Linked DNA regions of Homo sapiens: all the other regions are linked to region 1. Evidence: promoter capture Hi-C in 16 types of primary human blood cells and fetal thymus (Javierre and others, 2016). All regions are on one chromosome and are shown on one strand. The core of a region is centred on a gene start or on the middle of the fragment in contact, and the rest is flanking DNA. Distances in the headings are between cores, read along the strand shown. Region 1 holds the start of GCC2 (GRIP and coiled-coil domain containing 2). Region 2 holds the start of TGFBRAP1 (transforming growth factor beta receptor associated protein 1). Region 3 holds the start of MRPS9 (mitochondrial ribosomal protein S9).

What was found. The method cuts DNA at HindIII sites, captures the fragments that hold promoters and counts their contacts. A CHiCAGO score of 5 or more calls a contact.
Region 2: the fragment with the promoter of TGFBRAP1 here is called in contact with the fragment with the promoter of GCC2 in region 1 in 1 of 17 cell types (naive CD8 T cells); the score reaches 6.8 in naive CD8 T cells.
Region 3: the fragment with the promoter of MRPS9 here is called in contact with the fragment with the promoter of GCC2 in region 1 in 2 of 17 cell types (non-activated CD4 T cells and fetal thymus); the score reaches 6.8 in non-activated CD4 T cells.

The regions. Positions count from the first base shown.
Region 1 is chr2:108,447,834-108,450,533 of GRCh38, forward strand. It overlaps GCC2 (GRIP and coiled-coil domain containing 2), which reads left to right and starts at 1,373. Exons shown (of 23, transcript NM_181453.4): 1 at 1,373-1,447; 2 at 1,800-1,856. The coding sequence starts at 1,442. RefSeq lists enhancers at 313-1,295, 1,200-1,459, 1,296-2,277, 2,363-2,700. The HindIII fragment of the contact is 5,578 bases long and covers 1-2,351 here.
Region 2 is chr2:105,328,338-105,331,037 of GRCh38, forward strand. It overlaps TGFBRAP1 (transforming growth factor beta receptor associated protein 1), which reads right to left and starts at 1,398. Exons shown (of 12, transcript NM_004257.6): 1 at 1,288-1,398. RefSeq lists a silencer at 1,283-1,712. The HindIII fragment of the contact is 18,854 bases long and covers 1-2,700 here.
Region 3 is chr2:105,036,736-105,039,435 of GRCh38, forward strand. MRPS9 (mitochondrial ribosomal protein S9) reads left to right here and starts at 1,334. Exons shown (of 11, transcript NM_182640.3): 1 at 1,334-1,492. The coding sequence starts at 1,358. It overlaps MRPS9-AS2 (MRPS9 antisense RNA 2), which reads right to left and starts at 1,761. Exons shown (of 3, transcript NR_110603.1): 1 at 1,719-1,761. RefSeq lists enhancers at 741-950, 971-1,020, 1,071-1,120, 1,291-1,620, 1,374-2,316. The HindIII fragment of the contact is 6,591 bases long and covers 1-2,700 here.

The DNA of each region.
Region 1 (2,700 bases), core at 123-2,622:
ATCTAACAGTGTTTCTCTGAGAAACTTTTACAGGATTGGAATGTGTGTAGTATCTAGTTAACCTGCTATTTTATTGCAAGTGATTTTTTCAAGTTATTAATTGAAATAGGAGTCTACCGTAAGTTGCTCTTAACTTGGGGAACTACTTTGAATGGCATTAATCTGGACCATTAATAACAATGTATACTTGGGGATTGTGTGTGTGTGTGTGTATACATGTGTGTGCATATATGTGTGTACACACACGTGCACACACACGTGCGCGCACACGTGCACACACACACGTGCACACACACACGTGTACACACACACGTGTACACACACACGTGTGTTACTGTACGTGGAGACTGTACATCTTAGGTCACACACCACCCCTGAACCAATCCTACAAACACCATAGGTGATACACACTGTCAAAGACAAAGAGTAGATGTCCACAATAGCTGTTCTTTCTCGTTTATAACACTTCTTTTACCTAGTAATAATCAGCTACCATTTACTCGATACATACTGTGTGCTGCCTCTTCAACCTTTTGACCATTTAAACTACAGGAAACTAGGTTATCTTCAGGTTACCTTAGTTATGGGAGTGTATGGAAAACATTAATGGGAAGGTGAAAGCGCAGCAAACCACTTCAGCAGTTAACAGAAAGGCTCTCAGAGCACTGGACCGCCAATCAGGACACAGCAGCAGCTCTGGGATTCGACCACAGATTCTCTGGCGTGCCCTTCGGGAAAGGGTGGCCTCGGGCCCCCTACTCTACAGAGTCTCCTCCCACGGCTGCCCAGTTCCCTGGCCGACTATCTTGCCTCCACCACATCACCATCAGTACCGGGCGGCTGCAGGGCAGAGCTGTCCAGGGACCTCCTCACAGCCTCCAGAGTCAAGAAATGCCTCCTCAGGGAAGCCCTCTACCGCATCCCTGACCTGTGAGTCACGGAGCTCCCGGGCACCATGCTGGCCACAAATGCCTAAGGAGCCCCCCGGAACCAGCTGTGGGTCCCGCAGGCACTCGCAGGCTAGCGGACACCTTTGGAGGACTGAGAGACCTGTCCTGCAATCCAATGTTCCTCACTCTCACAAGATTTTACAGACGTGGAAACCGAGGCCCGAGGCCCCAAGGGGTAATCGGCCCGCCTTCCCATGCCAATAACCGGCAGTGGCGGGACCCACACCTACTCCGTGACCTGCAGGCCCAGGGGTCGAGCCCCAGGTAGAACGTCTAGACGGACTCCGCCCTTAGCGCCGTACGGGGAACCTTCTCCCGGACGCAGACACGGAAGCGGAAGTGCTGCCGAGCTGTAGCTATGGAGACGTGGGGGGCGGGCCGCCCGGAGAGCGCGACCTTTGACCTGCAGTAGAGCCTACGTCAGAGGCTGGCGCAAACAGAAGTGCAGCGGTGGCGGCGGCTGGTTGCGGGCCGGCGGCGGGCTGGCGGAGATGGAGGTAACTCAGGTCGGGCCCACTGCCTCCCATCAAGCCTTCCGCGCCGCGATTTGGGATGTGGGAGTGGGCCCGATGGGAGGGCGCGGTAGTCTCCCTCTTGGTGTCCCGAAGCCCGCGCTGCTGTCGCCTCCCCATCTTTCGTAAACTCTATCCCTGGGGGTTACCTGCCCCGTAGAGCCCGTTTGTGTACGAATTGCCACAGCGACCGCCTCCGTCCGCCCTCATTCTCTGTCTCACGAGGCTTTCCACCACTTGATTCCATAGAAGGTTTTTCCCTGTAAGGGTTCTACGCGTTCCGTGTGGAATTAGGAAAAGAGTTCTTCTGACACCTGGGTTTGATTTTGTTTTGCAGGATCTTGTTCAAGATGGGGTGGCTTCACCAGCTACCCCTGGGACCGGGAAATCTAAGGTGAAGAGAATACTTGAATAGCGGGCTTCCTGAAGAGTGGAAGGGTGATGAATTGGAAAACTTTGGCATGGGGAAGGGGGGGGCGCTGATTTTTTTTTTTTTAATAGCCTTGCTCCAAGGGATCTCAATTTTAGTGTGCGCAATCGCCCATTTCCTGTTTCTCCCCCGCCCACCCCGATATAGAAAGACTTTTTGTTTGCTTCCTGCTCCTGGTTAGCACTGCTGGGAGATCCTGCTATTTTTCGAACATAAAGCAGTCTAAGAAGGTTTATATAGTGGTGTAGTGGAAGGAGCAGTGACATAGGGTAGGAATCAAGGGATTCTGATCTGTGGGCTCCAGTTTCTACATTGCCAAAGAGTTTAATTAGTCCAGTTTTATGGCCCTGTACAATGTTTAACATTCAATCATTCTAAATGATAGTGGTTTATTGCTAAGGTTTATTGTGTGCATGCTAAATTTCTGGCGCTTGCCTAACCACTCAGTTCCTTCGTTTAAGCTTCATGATAACCATGAGATAGGTACTGTTGTTACCCTCCTTTTACAGATGAGAAACCTGAGACCACAGGCTTAAGCAATTTTCTCAAGTGGTAAAGCTCAATTTTTTAATTAAAGCCTGAATGTTACCCGGTTCATCTTGCTGCTGTAATTATGCGTAAATTTTCTTGTGACCAAAGACTTGCAGCCTTGAATAGAATGAAATAATTTTACAGCTCCAAGGAATTTTAAGTAGCATTAGCTCCAACCTACTGATTTTACAATTAAATCAAAAGCTAGCAATGTCAACCTGTAACATTAGCTATAAGAGGATATGGCCTGGTTTTTACGTTTCATAGTAGTTGCATA
Region 2 (2,700 bases), core at 148-2,647, 3.1 Mb before region 1:
ACTCCAGGCAGCGTTTTGCTACACATCACAGAAGCAGCTGCAATGACTGTTGAGGCTGCTCGGCTGGCAGAAATGGAAGGAAAAAGAAAAGGAAGCAGCTGACCAAATGTTCCTTCTGACTGACCATGGAACTGCGAGCTCTCAGTTGTCTGCCAGCTTCCGGCTGACCAACAGAGAGAAGCATGTCCACCATGAGAGAGTAGCAGCCACCACACAGTCCCTCTACATTCGTTCATCCTGACTCCAACCAAGCCAACACACACAACGCAGTAGGATCTTCCCTGCACACCTTCTCAGTGCCTTAACTTGCCACCACAATCACACCCGCAGCTGCCTTCCTTCCTGATAGACAAGGTGCTTGCCCATGAGCACTTCATCAGTGATTAAACTCTGCTCAGACATGTTTTGACCACAGCTGCGCGTGCAGTCCACGTGCAGTAAGGCCTGCTGTGTGATCTGTGAGCCCCCATTTTTAGCAGCCAGGTAGGAGGCTTCCTGAGGGTCACTCAACAGTCCTTGGGTAGAAGCCACGGCAGGTGCAGACAACCGGACAGCTTCCGTGTTTAAGGATATCAACACTTAACACAGGGAGGCAGGCGGACTAACTTGCACCTGCACCTCCAGAAGGCAATGGAAAGAAAACAATTCCACAGGGATGACAGCTTCCAGCCCTTGACCTGGTGCTAAAAACAGGGGCCAGGAAGCCCAGCACAGCACTTTTCCCTACTCCCCAACACACCCCTGCCTACTCTCCAGATCAGGACAATTCAGGCCTGAGTGTGACCCGAATTTGAGCTCTCAAATCCAAAGAGCTCCCAGAAACCTCAATCACAGCGCCAAAACCATTCCATACCAGGGATGGAGGTGCAAGTCCTTCCTGGCCCTTCTCCCCGGAAAACCCAAATCAAGGACGAGGTCTCTCAGGTCTTCCCTTGCCCTAAACACACACGCACTCCTCACACACAACATACACACTTGACCCCACACCCGTGCACACTTCATCCCACACACACGTGAACACTTATTTGCTCACCCCAGCAGGCTAGCCGGCCCCCACAAGGGACAGCTACCAAGTCGCACACCCGCACACCTGCCCCCAAGTGTATAGCCACTTGCTCCCCCCACCCCGCGTTCCAGCCCCCACTACACCTGCCCCAGCGCACACGCACGGGCTCGCCCTCCACCCCGCCCCGCCGCCTACCCCCCACTCCTGCTCCCCGCCCTCCTGCCCCACGCGCCCCGCGCCCTGAGCCCCGCACCCCGCGCCCCGCCGCCCTCCTCACTCACCGGCGCCGGCGCCCGCCGTCCCGCGCCGCCCCGCGGCCTGGGGCCCCGCCGCCCCGCTCCGGCCCGCGGCTCCTGGGCTGGCCCGACCCCGCAGCCGCCGCTTCCCGTCACGTGGGGCGGCCGCCAGGCGCTGGCGGAGGGCGGGAGCGCAGCCGTCTCCGCGCCGCCCGCCGGCCCGCGGGCCCTGCCGCCTGGCTCCGAGCACAGGCCGAGACGGGCCCTGCTCCGGGCCTCGGCGTCCCCCTCCGTGCACCGGGGCCACGACACGGCCCGCCTCGCGGGGCGGCCAGCGGGCGGAAGGTGTTCATTCGGGGGGCGCTGAGGCCGCCGGCCCCGGGCGAGAGCGTGGTCCGCGCCAGCTGTGCGAGCCCGCGGGGCTGAGGTCTCTTCTCCGCCCCCGCCGCTGCGGGGAGCTTCAGGGAAGCCGGGCTTTGCCTGGCTCGCTCGCCACCCAGTTTCTGTCACCTACACAGGAGGAGGGCGCCCGGGAAATACCTGCTGCGTGAATGAATAAATGAATGAAATGCTTGGGCCCTGGGAAATGCTTGGGCCCGCGGCCGCCTGACCACGCGGGCTGGAGGATCGGACGTACCGCCGGTGCCCCACCAGGAGACGAAGGCATGGTTGGGATGCGCAGCCCTCCCACGAGGCCCATGGCGCCCCAGGGCCCTAGGGATTGACCGGGACCCCCGACTGGCAGAGTCCACCTGCTTGATACACTTATTTGAGAAGGGAGGCCTGGGACTATCTTACTCCTTTTAGGAAAACCCAACTGTAGCTGCTATTCCTTTGGTTCAGGCCGCAAGGAAGAATTGTAGGTTACCATGAATCCATGAACCCCTCTTTAGTATACAAAGTCCACTTTCATGACGGAAGAATTGGAAAGCTCCCTCCAGAGTTGTCAGTACTCAATTATTAGCATATAAAAAGTCAAATTTTCCCAGGGATTTTCAGACTTTAGAACCTGCTAGTGACCTGTGGCCTCAGCTTTCTTCCAGCCACTCTGAGTATTGTAAAACAAAGATATTATCCCAACCCTGAAGGCAGATACCAGATTGTACGCCATGGTCTTCTGTTTCAAAGGGATAAAAAAAGAAAGAAAAGAAACTGGCCAAAAAAAAAAAAAAAAAAAAAAAACCCAACAATCTTCCTGTGACTTGCCCTCTACCCCTACCCTAGTGTGACTCATGGCCACATAAATGCCCCATCCCCAGTGGTGCTTCAGCTGTGACCCAGTGGAACCAGTGTCACCGGCTCAGCCTCCAGGTAGGGGACTGGCTTCCCAGGAGTGTAAAGCTCTGACCAGCAATTGAGCTTCAAGGGCAAGCAGCAGTGAATGGACCTTCAAGTCTAAGGTGGCCAACAGCTAGTGGAGCCAGGGATTGGGAAGGTACAAGAGCAAATCCAGTCTCT
Region 3 (2,700 bases), core at 84-2,583, 3.4 Mb before region 1:
ACAGATGCATATCCCACCCCTCCAAGGACAGCTTTGCAGGGCCATTTCAAGATATGGCAAAGAAACATGTTTTGGGGTAAAATATTTTGATTTTCTTCCTTGTCTTGTAATGTTATGCCAGAGTCAGGTTGGAAAGTAAGTCACCATATATAGGGTTAAGTAAAACCCATCTAATAAGAATTTATGATTTGTAGGGCATGACTCCCCAAATCCTGTAGATAGGAATCTTGGGCAAGATAAAAAAATCAGAGTTTAGTCCTCCGACCTCTGCCAATTTCTCAAGATATCTTTTGCTAGTCTAAAAGCTAATAACAAAAAGAACAACAGGATGAGCATTTTATACAAGTAAATGTATTCCATTTAAAAGATTTTTCTTTATTGTGAAATTCTGCCATTCTACCTTTTTAATGCTAAAAAGTTCTGTTTCGTGAAATGATGGTGATAGTAGACGGCATTTATTTGCTTGACAACTTTGTATGATCTCAGATTTTCTGTGTGTTTTACTTTTACTGACCCTTCAAATCTAAGTGTGTGTAAACCCTTTTAAAGTGCGTTACTACATCATTTAGTATGTGTTTCGTAGAAAGCAACCTGGGAGTTAACTGCCAGGAGCACGCAAGTTTCAGAAAGCAAGACATACTCATCTCTATTCAACAATTAATCAGTTCTGATTGGGTTTCAAGTAAGGCTTAGTACCAACGCTTAGGGAGGGGCGTGCAAAAACGAGAAAGGTAGTGTTTGACCTTACCGGTTTAAGGTTTATCCTGTGCATTATACAGTTAAGAAACAACGCAGGAGAGTGCCAGGGAACCGAGAGGGGCTTGACAGTTGCTGCAGGAGAGTCTTGACTTGGAACCAGACGAACGTGGAAAGTTAGAGGAGGGGAAAACCCCTACTAGGATAAGGCAGACAGGAATCAAGGCTTGGAGCGCATCTGGGGCCCCGGCCGCCCTGCCCAGGTGGAGGAAGAGCCGGCTCGAGGTGCAGCAAGGGGGCTGGGAAGGAAGGGCTGGCTAAAGCGCCACGTGGATGTGAGTGCCAAAGAGACTAGGAGAGCGTGGAAGTGAGTCCCGAAGAGACTGAGTTCAGGACGTGAAGAGAAAGAGGCCGAGAAAAACGACCCACCAGCGATCCTTCTTGAGGTCGACACCGAGCAGGGGTGGAGTCGGATACGCCCCGCGGACACCATGCACCCAATCAGCGACGAGCTGTCGCGGATCGCGGGACACGCCCCCTGATCCAAAGGCCCGAGAAGCTCTTGCACAGGACAGCCTCTGGAACCCCGCGCCATTAGCGCCTGCGCCGTCTCTAGGCCCCGCCCCCTCACCCCTCCGGTCCTGGAGCTCCCACAGCTAACATGGCGGCGCCCTGTGTGTCCTACGGCGGAGCAGTTTCGTACCGGCTTCTTCTCTGGGGTAGGGGTAGCCTCGCCCGGAAGCAAGGCCTCTGGAAAACCGCGGCCCCTGAGTTGCAAACAAATGTCAGATCCCAGGTAAGGCCTGGGAAGACTGGAAGCGGCTTACCTCTGCCGCGCGAGGATGTGGAGCCAGCGCGGACACCTTCCCCCAGCGTCTCGCGTGCCTTCAGGCAGGGACTCTAGGATCTTAGGTATTTAGTGGAGGTCTGAGGTTGGGGGGGAGGAGGTGGGTATTGGCGTGCAGTAGCCGCTCTAGAGGTTGTTACTTGTTTTTTTGCGGGGTGCAGCGAGGGGAACTTACCTGAAGGTAGAAGTGGAGCGACCTCCTCCTTCATTTGGCTGCTGAGCTAAGTAAGGGTCGGTGCCTAGGTCTGTGTTGGGTCCAGTCCTACCCTGCCCTGCTGTCTAGGGAGGAGGAGGGCCGCGCCAGAGAAGAATGATGGGAATTGGATTCCTGCAGGTGCCTGGAAGACAATGGAGAAAGTCACGTTGTGTAGAGGACAGTGACTTTTTGAAAGTGCCTTCAATATGCGCAATTTCTGGCTTCTTAATTTTCCCGAATCCCCCTCTATGGAAAGATGCAGGCCAGAACTTGTACGTTTCGTTTAATCCAGGGAGAAGTGGGGAGTCAACAGCTGGATGGCTGATGATGCCAGTTTACTGACATGCGATCTCAGAGCAGGAAAAAGATTTGAGAGGGAAGAAACGAGTTTAGTATGGGATTATGTTTTTAGGCATCTGGGATTTCCAGTAGGTCTACGGATAGTCAAGTGTATAGCTCAGGAGGAGAACTGATTTCGAAATGCCCTGTTACCTTGTAAATGGTAACTGAGGCCTTGTAAACAAATTAAATTACCTAGGGAGAGTGTACTGAGGAGTAGGCAGAGGGACAGGGCCCTGAAGGACAAATAAGAAATAAGAGGCCTCAAGAGATTGAGAATGAGGGACCAAAGAAGCAGGAGAGAAACCAGCCAGTGTGGTGTCATGGAAAACAGGTGAATGTTTCAAGGAGGGAGAGTGATAACAAGTACCAATTATTGCAGGAAAGTCAAATACCATACTTTAAAAACTATATTTAAAAAAAAAAACATCTTTTTGTATGTTCTTTCCTTTATATTTTAATCTAGATCAACCAGTCCATTCTATCTATTCATGTGGACATTTGTTTTTTTTTTTTTTCTTACTGGAAAATGTGCTAGAAATTTTTATTTTTTCATGCATCTCTTTGAGTATATCTTTGCTACATACGCATGATTATGAGAGGGACTATATCATACAGAGTA